Linked DNA regions of Homo sapiens: regions 2, 3, 4 and 5 are each linked to region 1. The links are contacts of gene promoters, found by promoter capture Hi-C in blood cells and fetal thymus (Javierre and others, 2016). All regions are on one chromosome and are shown on one strand. The core of a region is centred on a gene start or on the middle of the fragment in contact, and the rest is flanking DNA. Distances in the headings are between cores, read along the strand shown.

Evidence for each region. Contacts are between HindIII fragments. The CHiCAGO score rates a contact against its expected background, and 5 or more counts as called.
Region 2: the fragment with the promoter of PRB4 here is called in contact with the fragment with the promoter of TAS2R10 in region 1 in 12 of 17 cell types (total CD4 T cells, M1 macrophages, naive CD4 T cells and 9 more); the score reaches 13.1 in total CD4 T cells.
Region 3: a contact is called between a fragment that was not itself captured here and the fragment with the promoter of TAS2R10 in region 1, in 7 of 17 cell types (M1 macrophages, M2 macrophages, erythroblasts and 4 more). The highest score is 6.7, in M1 macrophages.
Region 4: a contact is called between a fragment that was not itself captured here and the fragment with the promoter of TAS2R10 in region 1, in 1 of 17 cell types (M2 macrophages). The highest score is 5.3, in M2 macrophages.
Region 5: a contact is called between a fragment that was not itself captured here and the fragment with the promoter of TAS2R10 in region 1, in 2 of 17 cell types (M2 macrophages and M1 macrophages). The highest score is 6.7, in M2 macrophages.

The regions. Positions count from the first base shown.
Region 1 is chr12:10,825,013-10,827,715 of GRCh38, reverse strand. It overlaps TAS2R10 (taste 2 receptor member 10), which reads left to right and starts at 1,358. Exons shown (of 1, transcript NM_023921.2): 1 at 1,358-2,497. The coding sequence starts at 1,447. The coding sequence ends at 2,370. The HindIII fragment of the contact is 6,023 bases long and covers 408-2,703 here.
Region 2 is chr12:11,309,063-11,311,765 of GRCh38, reverse strand. PRB4 (proline rich protein BstNI subfamily 4) reads left to right here and starts at 1,330. Exons shown (of 4, transcript NM_002723.6): 1 at 1,330-1,431; 2 at 2,361-2,396. The coding sequence starts at 1,368. The HindIII fragment of the contact is 5,809 bases long and covers 744-2,703 here.
Region 3 is chr12:11,215,326-11,218,028 of GRCh38, reverse strand. The region is part of intron 1 of LOC107987435 (a long non-coding RNA gene); the gene reads right to left. Among named protein-coding and RNA genes, the nearest start is that of TAS2R42, 30 kb to the right of the region's middle. The HindIII fragment of the contact is 1,882 bases long and covers 451-2,332 here.
Region 4 is chr12:11,196,734-11,199,436 of GRCh38, reverse strand. The region is part of intron 1 of LOC107987435 (a long non-coding RNA gene); the gene reads right to left. It also overlaps the pseudogene LOC100420583. Among named protein-coding and RNA genes, the nearest start is that of TAS2R42, 11 kb to the right of the region's middle. The HindIII fragment of the contact is 2,414 bases long and covers 178-2,591 here.
Region 5 is chr12:11,173,740-11,176,442 of GRCh38, reverse strand. SMIM10L1 (small integral membrane protein 10 like 1) reads right to left here. Exons shown (of 1, transcript NM_001271592.2): 1 at 427-2,703. Among named protein-coding and RNA genes, the nearest start is that of PRH1-PRR4, 3.5 kb to the right of the region's middle. The HindIII fragment of the contact is 3,407 bases long and covers 1-2,703 here.

The DNA.
Region 1 (2,703 bases), core at 109-2,608:
TCAGAGTTTTAAATTCTTCTTTGTTACTATTAATTTTTTACTTGGAGTATTTAGTTCATTTACATTTTATATAATTATATTCTCCATTTCTAGAAGTTTTTTCCCCAAATGTTCCAATTTCTTTCTAACAGTCTCTTGCTGCTCTTCTCTGAAATTGCATCTTGTTTTTTGTAAACAGTGTATACATTAGCTAATTTATCTATACATATTCTTATCTGTCAATTTCAGTATGTGCAGCCCATGAGAATTTAAGTTTTCTACTTGCTTTTGGTTGGTTTGTTTTGTTTTGCTATCATTTGTAGTCTATTCCTAAGCTTAATTTAACTTCATTTTGAAATCATTGTGCAATTTTATTTATGGTAGTCATGCCAGGATAAGTGAGAGAAGGTCTTCTTTTCTCCAAAGCTTAGTTTATTCATATTTAATGTAAATACAAAAATAGCCCCTCTTTTAAAGGATTGAAGGCTTGTGAAATTAAGATGAGAAAAAGATACTTAACATAGCGCTAGGAATATAATAAAAGCTCAATAAATGTTAGATTTCACTTTTAATTTCACTTTTAATTCTTAGATCAGTATGTTGATTTACTTAATTGTTTCCCACCTCCCTCATTAGAATATACACTCCATAAATCACACAAGTTTTGAAATTCTGTCTACCACTATATTCCCTCAAAGATCAAAAGAGAGCTTGTTGTATCTAGACATTCAGTAAATACTTGTTGGATAAATGAATGGGTGCCAGCAAACAGTAATGTGTTAAATGAAGAGATTATTCCTAAGAGCCTTTCATGTCAAGGGTAGTCAACATAATCTTCTGCATTCAAGGGTGTAATAACCATAAGTATAAAACAACAGCAACAGATTTGTGACATATTTGTGAAACTTGTCATACCTAGAGTTGAGCTTAAATTTTAATTAAAAATTAAATCGATCATTTAGAGTAAGTATCTACAGTGGCTAAATTTGTTTTTCATTTCTATATAGTATTTTCTGTACATATATAAATTGATTATAAATGACATAAATAATGATTTGATATTTTAAAAGATAAAGTCAAAATTTTTGTTTCTGTTTTGCATTACATTCTATAGGTATATGTTTGGCACTCCTCCTCCACAATTCAATTTATTAAATGCAAAATAGTCTCAGGAGGACATGTAAAATCCATGAAACAGAAACTTTCATTTGCATTTTAACAAATTATAGATAGGCATTCAGTCTGAACATACATTCTCCAGACTAGCTATGTTTTGTAGACATATTTGGAAAGGTCTTCATTAAGAAATTTCTGATTCCATCTCAAGCCATTACTGGGGCAATTTCAAGTCTTTATATAATGAAAGAGAAGAAAGTCACACTTCCGTCGAGCAGCCAATATATGCCTCATTCTGCAGCAGGTAATCTAAGATAGATGTAACAGAAGCAATATTAAGAATTAGCAGATATGCTACGTGTAGTGGAAGGCATCTTCATTTTTGTTGTAGTTAGTGAGTCAGTGTTTGGGGTTTTGGGGAATGGATTTATTGGACTTGTAAACTGCATTGACTGTGCCAAGAATAAGTTATCTACGATTGGCTTTATTCTCACCGGCTTAGCTATTTCAAGAATTTTTCTGATATGGATAATAATTACAGATGGATTTATACAGATATTCTCTCCAAATATATATGCCTCCGGTAACCTAATTGAATATATTAGTTACTTTTGGGTAATTGGTAATCAATCAAGTATGTGGTTTGCCACCAGCCTCAGCATCTTCTATTTCCTGAAGATAGCAAATTTTTCCAACTACATATTTCTCTGGTTGAAGAGCAGAACAAATATGGTTCTTCCCTTCATGATAGTATTCTTACTTATTTCATCGTTACTTAATTTTGCATACATTGCGAAGATTCTTAATGATTATAAAACGAAGAATGACACAGTCTGGGATCTCAACATGTATAAAAGTGAATACTTTATTAAACAGATTTTGCTAAATCTGGGAGTCATTTTCTTCTTTACACTATCCCTAATTACATGTATTTTTTTAATCATTTCCCTTTGGAGACACAACAGGCAGATGCAATCGAATGTGACAGGATTGAGAGACTCCAACACAGAAGCTCATGTGAAGGCAATGAAAGTTTTGATATCTTTCATCATCCTCTTTATCTTGTATTTTATAGGCATGGCCATAGAAATATCATGTTTTACTGTGCGAGAAAACAAACTGCTGCTTATGTTTGGAATGACAACCACAGCCATCTATCCCTGGGGTCACTCATTTATCTTAATTCTAGGAAACAGCAAGCTAAAGCAAGCCTCTTTGAGGGTACTGCAGCAATTGAAGTGCTGTGAGAAAAGGAAAAATCTCAGAGTCACATAGACACCTTGGGAAGAGATGGATGTTCCACGAAAGGAATCCAGTGAATAAATCCTTGAAGATCTGTTTCATTGCACTGCATTCTTGCATTGTCTTTTTAACTGTGTCATTAAAGATCACTGAAATCTTCCATAATTGTTTTGACTATGTTTCAGGGAATCTCAGTCTTTGAGGAGATTTTAATCTCACATGCAAATTCAGTGGCTTAGTCAGCTTCCCCACCCTGCAACTTCTTCCTACAAACTTCCTAGAGGAAGACCATCAGCCTGGAGACTATTCGCTGTAAAGATTATAACGGTGAGAATAAGCTCTAAAATAAAACTTCTTGTTGTGCTT
Region 2 (2,703 bases), core at 81-2,580, 480 kb before region 1:
AGCAGGTATTTATCAGATATAACGAAGAATCAGTAGCTGAAAGAAGTGCTAACAATGCAGGTCTCTGATAGGGCTTTTTGGAAACACAACACGTATTATGAAATTACACAGACAAGAATGAAACAAAGATGGTAAGTACTATATCCTAATACTTAGAAGATTAAATAAAGGAAATCTCACCAAATTCATGGGGAAAAAAGCCAGATACATAAAGAAAAATACACATAATGGGCTTGACTCAGAAAATAAAATATGAACAAAGAAGAACCAGAAAGAAGGTGGGGAGGAATGCATATCAGAATATTATAGAAAAATACTCTTTGTGGAAGAACAATCTGAGAAAACAGGTAACACAAATACTGACTAAACCAAGAATACCAATATAATGCAATTTAGGCTTTAACGAGGGTATCTGATTATCCTATTTGAATGTAGAATTGTAGCCACTTAATTATAAGTGGTAGGAATTCAATACAATTATTAAAAGAAATGAAGCAGAGGGTGAATATTATAGAATATTCTGGACAAAGGGAAGAGCATGAAGGAAGTTTTGGCAACATGATATCGCATGGCTCCCGCAAGGAATTATGTATTCAGTTTTCTCAGATCTAGAAATTTCCTTATGGTTTCTGTGTACATTTTGCATTAATAACCCCTAAAGGTACTTTAAAATACACAATTTTGGCCTTCCTGTGTGGCACAACAACAAGCCTTGCCTGAGCTGAGTCAGATCCACAGAAGCTTGAACAATAGTTGTAGCCCGAGCAGGCTGTGGGGCAGCTTTCTGTCATCTATGTGTGCCCAGGAGTGTGTTGTCTTCACACCATCACACAGGTAACAGAAACCATCTCTATCGCATCAAAACTTTAGCCAATTGTGATACTATCTGTACACACACATCACAAGAGATGGAAATAGGCTCTATAAAGAGCCAGAGAAATTGACCATCTTCACTGCTGGCTGTAGCTTCACTGCCCCCACAAATATTACACAGAAATAAATAGTAGAGTGGAAAGCAGACATAGTCTTACCAAAAGGATTGAAACTCTAATGATGTCTGAAGTTCAATTATGACACAGTGCTGATAGCTTGGACACAGTTCCTTTAGAACCTTTATTCAAGTCATAGTCGTACCTTTTAGAAATAAGGCACAAACAACATCCAACCCACCCCATCCCTCTGGGCTAGAGTCCCAAAGAGAAATAAGGGATACACCTGACCTGCAGTAAGGAAAGCAGAACCCAGTCTCTGAGGTGGTGAGGCCCACCCAGGGCTCAAAGGTGCCATTGTTTTGCTCCTCTTTATAAAGGGAGTTGCCACGTTCCTCCCAGCACAGAGTTGGGAGTGACTCCAGAGCCTCCAGCGAGATGCTGCTGATTCTGCTGTCAGTGGCCCTGCTGGCCCTGAGCTCAGCTGAGAGTTCAAGTGAAGGTAAAACAGAAGGGGGAAAAGATGCGGTGACTGCTTGGGACTTAGGAGGTGACAGTGGTAATTATGGGGAAGAGAGGAGAATGAAAACACAGATGGGGCTGCAGAGTTTTCATGCCTAGGATCAGGAGACCTGTTGTGCCCTCATTCCACAATAAGGACTTCTAATTTATTTAATGTACAATGAAATCCAATAACGAATTTGTTCCAGGGGAATGAGAAGGTAAGATTTGAATTTATAGAGATAGAACTGTGCTGTGAAGGCTGCAGTGGAGAGTGCAAGGCAGATTCAGGGAAGTCCAGCTGTGAAGATCCTATACTGATCCCAGTAAGTACACAGGGATGATGGTGGCCTTGCTGTACAGACAGTCGGCATTGATGATAGAGATACATACACATCAGAGATACTGCAGAGACAGAACTGGATAGAACACTTGTCTCTGTCTAACTAAAGATGTAGAAATATCAGAGCCAATCATTACAATTTTTCTCTCCCCTACATGCAGTATTTCAATGTGCTGGGAGTGGAATGGGTTAGATTGTATTGAAATGATTACTTCTGGTTACCCCTATTGAGAAAACATGTGTATGTATGCAATATATTAACAGGAGATGGAGGGCATAAGAACACCAAAATATCACATTGAAGTACCTGGCATGCATAAACTAAATAAGCATTAAGTCTTGAGGGATGCTAGGGAGGAAAAAAAGGGGCTGTTCTATGTTGAACTCATTGCTGTTGCTCTGTGTGGTAACAACCCTGCCTCCTCTTACACCTTCCACCCCTTCCAGCACCTTCACAGATGGTGGCTGATGAGTTAACCTAGGGGATGCATGGGGTGTGGTGAGAAGACAATTTTCCCTGTAGAACACTTGTGAGTCTTGAAGATTTGAGATGTAACATTTCCCATCATCCTGTGCTTCTCTTCTAGATGTCAGCCAGGAAGAATCTCTCTTCCTAATATCAGGTAAATCCCAATTCATTCTCAATCTGTTTTGACTCCCTTTTTCTGCTTACAAATGGATCATTTCTCCAGTGTCTTCTTATCAACACTTTCCTTTCAGGAATTGATTAATGTTATTGCCCCTAATGATATAGGCAATCTTCATGCAAACTTGATTCTGGGGACCATGAGCAGGCCACCAAATGGAATGTCAGAGATGCTTGGCTTAGATGACAACAGGAGTGGGTTGACATCCCCCTGGCCAGGAGTGCCTCCTGGGAGATGACAGACAAATGGCCAGTGTCCTTATTCTGACTCCTCCTTAGACTGA
Region 3 (2,703 bases), core at 142-2,641, 390 kb before region 1:
TCCTCATGTGCTTGGTAAAACTTAGTGTTGATGAGGGGTGTCCACACTAAATGGTATTGATAGCTGGAGCATGTATTCTCAGGCAAGAAGAGAAATCCTGTTTGCCTGTAAGTGAATATATTTCCTAATAGTAAAATTTCCTTTAAATGTGTTTGTAATGCAATATTTTTAAAAAACCTGTTATCGCTGGTGACAGAGCAGGAGTATTGCCATCTTGGACAAGCACTGTCATTTTAAGTTCACCTTGATCAAAAACTGCCTAAATCCAAAGGTCATCAGCCTTCTGGCTAAGGTCAGCATGACCATAAACCACAAATAATATCTCTGACCAAAAAAATTCCAAACCTCTCCCCTACCAGAGGCATGCCAGACCCGAGATAATCTCCCCTCCACCCAGAGACAGTCTGACCCCAACATAAACTTCTCCCCCACACAGAAACATTTCAAGCTTGTGATAAACCCCCTCACTCTAAAACCAATGTATACTCTGTTGCTGCTTCTGAATCCTATAACCCCAAAGGGCCTAGCAAGGCCAACATCTCTGCCATTGGCTCCTCAAAACTCTGTCTTCCTCTGCTTTTGAATGTTCCAGTTTGAGAGTAAAATTTAGGTTGAAGACATCTCCCCAACCTGTCTCCTGCTGGTGAGATATTCCTCTACAGTTTAAAGCCCCCTCACGAATGCCCACTCATTTCATTTTATTTTTGTACTTAAATAAAATCAACTTTATATGTATTTTTTAAAATATTTTAATATTTTCAGCTTTATTAGGGTATAAGTGATAAATAGAAATTGTATATATTTAGGGTGTGCAACTTCCTATTTTGATTTATGTATACATTGTGAAATGCTCACCATAATCTAGCTAGTTAACATAGCCATCGCTTCACATAGTGACCTTTTTTTTGTATATGTGTGGTGAGAACACTCAAGATCTGTCCTTTTGGCAATTTCAAGTATTCAATACAATATTTTAAATTATGGTCTCCATGCTGTACTCGCCTACTCATTTTAGGCATGGTCAGGTGATATATAAACTCAAACTATTTCTAAATGTGATCTATTTCCTTTTCTACCATCTTATGGGTAACTATTTGTTGGAATATAATGCCTTCAAATTCCTTTAATATTCCATTTGCTTTCACGTTCTCAGGTGGTTTTTTTTAAATACTTTCTTTAAATATGTTTATGGAGTTCTCCACAGTGAGAGATAGGAAGTTGATAAATTCTAGTTCTAATAAAAGAGGCTTTATTCAAACATATTTTGTCCAACTTTTCCCCACTGTGGGTAATGCCACTTAGGAATTATTCTATCAGAACAGCATCTGACCTAAACCTTGACCTCATATATTACTCCTGCCCCTTGCTAGCCTTAGTAGATCTCATTTTCATTGTTTCTTTTCTATGAGAGCTGACTCTTCAAATATCTTGATTATGTTTCTCTCTCACACTGGAAATACCTGCATCTTTACCTACAACATATATGTGAATCTGAAAATCACGTAATACTATTTCGGCTAATTTTCCTGGTTTTCTCTTCTCAAATATGTGCCCACTTTATATAACTAGTTCCTGGGGAGGGGTCTCTTCTGTTAGTTTTCTGTTATTTGTTTACTTTTTTGGATGTTAGTAGTCACCCTTTCCAATCTAGAAACAAAAACCTCTCTTTTTCAGTTTCTTCTTTCTGAGTAATTAGATGCAGATTCCTTTGATGTGTGCCTAGCCCGGCCTCCAGATTCTCATTTTTCCTGACATTGCTCTCTAGTAAATTCCTCAACCTTTCTCCTAAGAAAGTCTTTCTTCCACAACAGTAACCAGGCCTTCTTGTTTTCCCTTTATTCTCCCATGACTTCCATTCTTATAGTTACATTGAAGAGTACCAAAAAACAAACTAAAATAAAGCAAAAACCGAAAACCCGCCTTTTTCTCCCAGAGACAGTATTCCGAGAATGAAACTTTTTATATTTCTGATTTCCTTTTGAGTTAGTGGTAATTTAATTGAGTTGTTTCAGCCCAAGAAAATAACATACATACTGTATTTAATAAAAAACCCAATTATTTTAAGTGGGTGAAGGTATAGATGAGTAATTTAGGAGTATTAATATAATCAGTAAATTGGAGAGACCATTTGGTGAGTGTGACTCACAGTGTGACAAGGCATATGAATGTAAGAAGTTTCCTTTCATCGAGTTTCCTTCGCCCTGGAAACTGATGCAGGTTAAGTCCTAACGATGCAGGGACTAATGATTTAGGGATTAAAATCTTATGCATTGATAGTCTGTAGCCTAGCATCTAGCTGCCATCCCCCTGTTTTTATTTTCTTAAACAAGCTTTATTTTTAGAACAATTTTAAATTTATAGAAAAATTGTGGAGCTAGCACATGGAGTTCCCATGTGTCTTGCACTCAGTTTCTCCTATCCTACAATACCATGGTATATTTGTTACAATTAATGAACCAATTGTCACATTATTATTAATTAAAGTTCATATCTTATTCAGGTTCCTTTAGTCGTGCCTCATGTATTTTTCTGTCCCAGGACCCCATCCTGGACGGGGATTTATTTATTTTATTTAGATGTTGGGTCTCCTTAGGTTCCTCTTGGCTGTGACAGTTTCTCAGACTTTCCTTGCTTTTGATGACCTTGATGATTTAAAGAATACTGGTCAGGTATTTTGCAGCATGTCTCTTTGTGAAGATGTGT
Region 4 (2,703 bases), core at 135-2,634, 370 kb before region 1:
TGGTGGACAGATCATGCTGGATCTTGCAAACAGCAATGAGAGCTTTGGATTTCACTCTGAGTGATACAAGGAACCACTTGGAGGGTTTTGGGCAGGGTGCTGACATGATATGACCTGCATATGAATGGGACCACTCTGTAGGGGCTAGCTCAGCAGCAGGAGGCCAGTAGGGAAGCTTCTACAATAATCTAGGTGAGACATGATGGTGGCTTGGGCCGCCACTATCCCAGCTGGTGATGGCAGTGATGATGGGGGCAGATTTCTCCTTTTGGTGCTGTTCTTGTGATAGAGTTCTCATGAGATCTGGTTGTTTAAAAGTGTGTGGCATCTTCCCCTTCTTTCTCTTCCTCCTGCTCTGGATATGTAAGATGTGCCTGCTGCCCCTTTGCCTTCTGCCATGACTGTAAGTTTCCTGAGGCCTCCCCAGCCATGCTTCCTGTACAGTCTGAGGAACCATAAGGCAATTTAACCTCTTTTCTTTATAAATTATTCAGTCTCAGGAATTTCTTTATAGCAGTGTGAGAGTGGATGAATACAGCATGCCACCATGTCTGGCTAATTTTTAAAATTTGTTATAGATGGGTTCTCACTGTGTTGGCCAGGCTGGTCTTGGACTCCTGGCTCCAAGCAGTCCTCCTGCCTTGGCCTCCCAAAGCACTGGGATCACAGGCATGAGCAACTGCACTTAGTAACACTAGTTTTCTTGATCTTGTTGGATTGGCTTGGTTGGCAAAAATTATTTCCTTTCCCATTATATGATTAACTGTTATGTTTAATTTCCAAAGTTAATATAGTATTACATATTTGTTTTATCATTATGGTAATTTTAAGAGATACCTTTAAAGATTTCCTGGAATTCCATGCATATATATCCATTTCCTGAAACTCTGTATCTCAGTTCCCTTATGTGTAAGATGGAGACAATGATGATACCTATTACTAGGACTATTGTGAGGATTAAATGAAATAAGACATGTAGAGTGATTGAACAGTGTTTTGCTCACAGAGTTCAATAAACGTCAACTCTTGTTTGTATTTTTATTACTGTGAGAGATGTAATGTATCTGAAATTAGCTTAGATCATGCAATTATCTTACAGCAACAATCCTAATGACTACTCTATATACTGCTGTGGCCTTAATGTAGAATGAAAGGTAGAAACAAAATTTTAATAATATGGCAGGTATAAGGTAAATGGGGCATCAGATATTAGGGTGAATAGAGATAAAAGCTGTTTGTCTCAAGCACAAATGATAAAGAAGCATATTGCTTATAAAGGACTTAAAACTGTAATGCAATCAATGAAAAGTTAGTCTACTTTTTATTATTATGACAGATTTGCAAGTCAGTGATAGAATACTTCTCTTATTGAGAGAAGACGGTTCCTATCTCCTTCTCTTTTGTTATGCAACATGTACAGGGCATAGAAGACATCTTTTGCCACCTAAGTTTGCCTACAGCTATTATCGGATATGATCCTCTTTATATGAGACTTTAAACTGTGCCTAATACAGCACATGGTATGGCAGGGGTTCAGTCTATATTTAAAAATTGATGTCTTTTTTCTTGAACCCAGGTAAACATTGAAAAATATTTATCTGCATAACTCACTACATAATAAATATTACACTGCTCCAATTCATAAATCATTTCCAAAGGACTCTTAGTCTGTTGCATATTCCTTACTGATGGTGATAAAAATTATTCAGTTTATTCATTTATATTTCTAACATTAGAAGTTCGATGCATAGTCTTTGTATTAGACTACTGCTAAAGACTCAGTAAATCATCTTGAGACATCTACATCATTTGGAGATGGGGCATGCAAAATTTAGAAAACTACTTGTCTTCAATTTGCATCTTTAGTAAAGAGAAACATATTTTAGTCACAATCTAATGTGGAAATCACAATCTAAGGGCATATTGGAAGATCATATGTAGAACTTGGGTTGAAAACTATGTCGAATTTTAGGGACAGGAGTACTTCCTGATTGAGGATTCAGAGATAAGAGTGATGGGTAGGAGACATTTATGAATACCAAATAACAGATGTATGTATTAACTACAATAAACGATTGGTGAATCGATGTTTGATTATTCAGAACTTACATTGCAAATTCAAGTGGGGCGTTCTTTCTGGAGCTATGACAAAGGCAGTGTAAAGTATCTCTACGACTGTAACCATGGTGGAATTCACAATAAGAATTTCAGGGACTGGCCGGGTGCAGTGGCTCATGCCTGTAATCCCAGCACTTTGGGAGGCTGAGGTGGGAGGAACACTTGAGGTCAGGAGTTTTCGCCAACATGGTGAAAACCCGTCTCTACTAAGAATACAAAAATTAGTGGGCATGGTGGCGCAGGCCTGTAATCCCTGCTATTTGGGACGCTGAGGCAGGAGAATCGTTTGAACCCAGGAGGCAGAGGTTGCTGTGAGCTGAGATTGTGCCACTGCACTCCAGACTAGGTGATAGAGTGAGACTCTGTCTCAAATAAAGAAAAAAAATATTCATGGACTGGATGGATTTAATTGGCAAACTTAATTGACTGGGCTGAGAACCAGATTTGTTTGATGGATTTCATCCTCTCAAGCTTGGCCATATGCAGAACACTTTTGCTCGGGTGTTGCTATTAGATGTACTTATAATGACTATCCAAATATAGATGCCGTTAATCATAACCTAATTAAAATTATAACAATATTTG
Region 5 (2,703 bases), core at 145-2,644, 350 kb before region 1:
TGTACCCAACTTCCCTCACTAATAATATGAATGATCTCCATTTCTCTTTATTGTTCATTGATGCATGCCACTATTTTACAGTGGCTAAGTCCATATGCTTGGTGTTGAAAGCCATGGAGATGGTGAAGATTTTGTAATGTTCATTGCAGATCCCTAATCAGGATAGAAACTGGCAGGGATGTCCTGCAATTAAGCTACTAAGACTTCCATAGTTTCTTCATTTGTAGTAGGCTTTTGGGAAGGTCCTTGGGCCTTTTAGTTGTCCCAAGAGCACTGCTGAAATTTGTATTTGTGGAGAGTAGGGGTAAGGGGAGGTTTACTTATATTTTGAAAAGATCTCATGACTTGACCTGGTGGTAATCCTGCTGAGCAAATCCTATTAAGTCTAGTTTGTTCAGGCTGCTATAAAAAATACCATAAAATGGGTGCTTATGAACAACAGAAATTTATTTCTTATAGTTCTAGAAGCTGGGAAGTCCAAGATCCAGGCATTCACAAATTTGGTATCTGGTGAGGGTTCATTTCCTTGTTCATAGATGACTTTTCCCTATAACCTTACATGGCAAAAGGGGTAAGGGAATTATTTTGGGGTCTCCTTTATAAAGGCACTAATCCCATTCACGAGGGTTTCATCTTTATGACCTGATCACCTCCCAAAGGTCCCATCTCCTGAGATCATCACTTTGGGGGTTAAATGCCAACATGTGAATTTTTGGGGGGCACATTCAGACCATAGTACAAGTGTTAAAACTGCAAGAAGAATCCCCACACTCAAGGTAACCCAAGTAATAGACTAATATGAATCAATCCAACCCAATTGTTGGGAATTCTCATAGTTCTTGCAGAGGTTCTTTTCTTGGTTCATTTTCTTGGAACTTCCCAAGTCGTCTTTAGACTACTTTCCATGCTCAAACTTCCAAGTATTAGGATATTCCTTTCCCTCATCTTTTGTCCCTATATTCCTCAACTTTCATCCTACCCCTTTATGCTTCTGCATGTAACTTTATTTTCTTCTTGACGCTATCAAAAGCTATTGATGTCCTGCCAGAAAGATCTCCCATTAAAAGCAAACTGCAAGATTTTCTAACAAAATTTAGTTAGGGATCCTCAGGACAGGAACAGACATGGCTTCAAAATTTAACATTGTCTGATCTCTACTCTGGGTAGCACAGGAAAGTGTTTCCCTTCCATTCTGAGGACAACGTTCTTTCCTCTCTCTCCCTTTGCTCCCATATCCCTCAATCCCACCAACCCTCTAATAAAATAAGCCAATAGGTTTAAGGCTGCAGAGAGTATAAAATACTTGAACTTACATATCAAATCATGTTAAATATTTATATTTTAGTATGAAAGACCCTCAATAGTTATGTTAAAAAAAATAACTATTACCCAGGTAATATTTCTGTCCAGAAATTTGAGAAACAGAATTATTTGTAATTATCTACACATTTAAGAAAATTGAACTCCTTATGAAATATAACTTTAGGAATTACTGGAGATTCATTTGAGGTCTGGTTGGTTATCATGACCTTAGGAATTTACTTAACCTCTCTAAATCCCGGTTTGCTTCTCTGAAAAATGATAAAAATGTTTTCCTCACAGGGTATATGTGAGAATTACGGAGCTCATGTATATAAATAGTTTTTCATAGTTCCTGGTATTAAAAACTCAATATATTTTAAAAATGATGCTGATGGTAATGATATGCTATTTGTCAAGTAATCACATGTATTTTTACCCAGAATTAAAAAAAAAAAAACAACTTTTCCCCTATCCCTTAGGTTACATATGTTGCTATGTTCACTGTTTTCCTTTTATAGTTAAAATAAGCTGTAACGCATCGTTTCCCATTTTTTTTTTTGCCAGCTACATTTCTTATCTCTATTGATAATAACTATACCACCTATGTCTCTGCTTTTTCATGCTTGAGGGATCTCTGGATCAATCAACGTGCATGATGGCCTGAAAAAGCCCAATTTATGGGCAATAAAGTGAATCATCTTATTATCAGGAACGAATATATGTTTCCTTTATTGACTGCTGACTATGTAGAGCATACCAACAAAATTGCCATTCATCTATCCATTCAACAATATTTATTAGCTATTCCGCACTGGGCAGTGCTCTAGGCTTGGGGATAGAACAGTGAACAAACAAAATCCTTAGCCTAATGGATATTACCTGGAAGTGTGCCAGGAAGAATAAACTCACTTGTGAATTACAACAATAAGTGGTTTATTCAGGTCAAAATCTTGTTTTGTCTCCTGGGAATTTCACTGAATTGCATCATGTAGGAGGCAAACTATACCCCAAGAATTAAGAGCAATTGTGAATAAATGATAAACCACAGAGTTTACATTTACCTCCTAATACATTTAACTCCTAATATATATATATACATATATTACGAGGTAAATGTAAGCTGTAACTTTATGCATATATTGTAAGTAGTAACTATACATATATACTTATATACTGTATACATATATAGTAAGTAGTAACTATACATATATACATATATAGTTACTACTTAAATTTATATATGTGTATGTATATATATATGTATATATACAGTACACACACATACTGTTACTACCGGGTGTAAAATTGAATAGGATATAGTGTCTTCCCTCACAGAGCTGCCAATTATGTTGGAGGATGTAATAAATACAAAGTCTGTTTCTTCATCTTCGGTTTAACAAA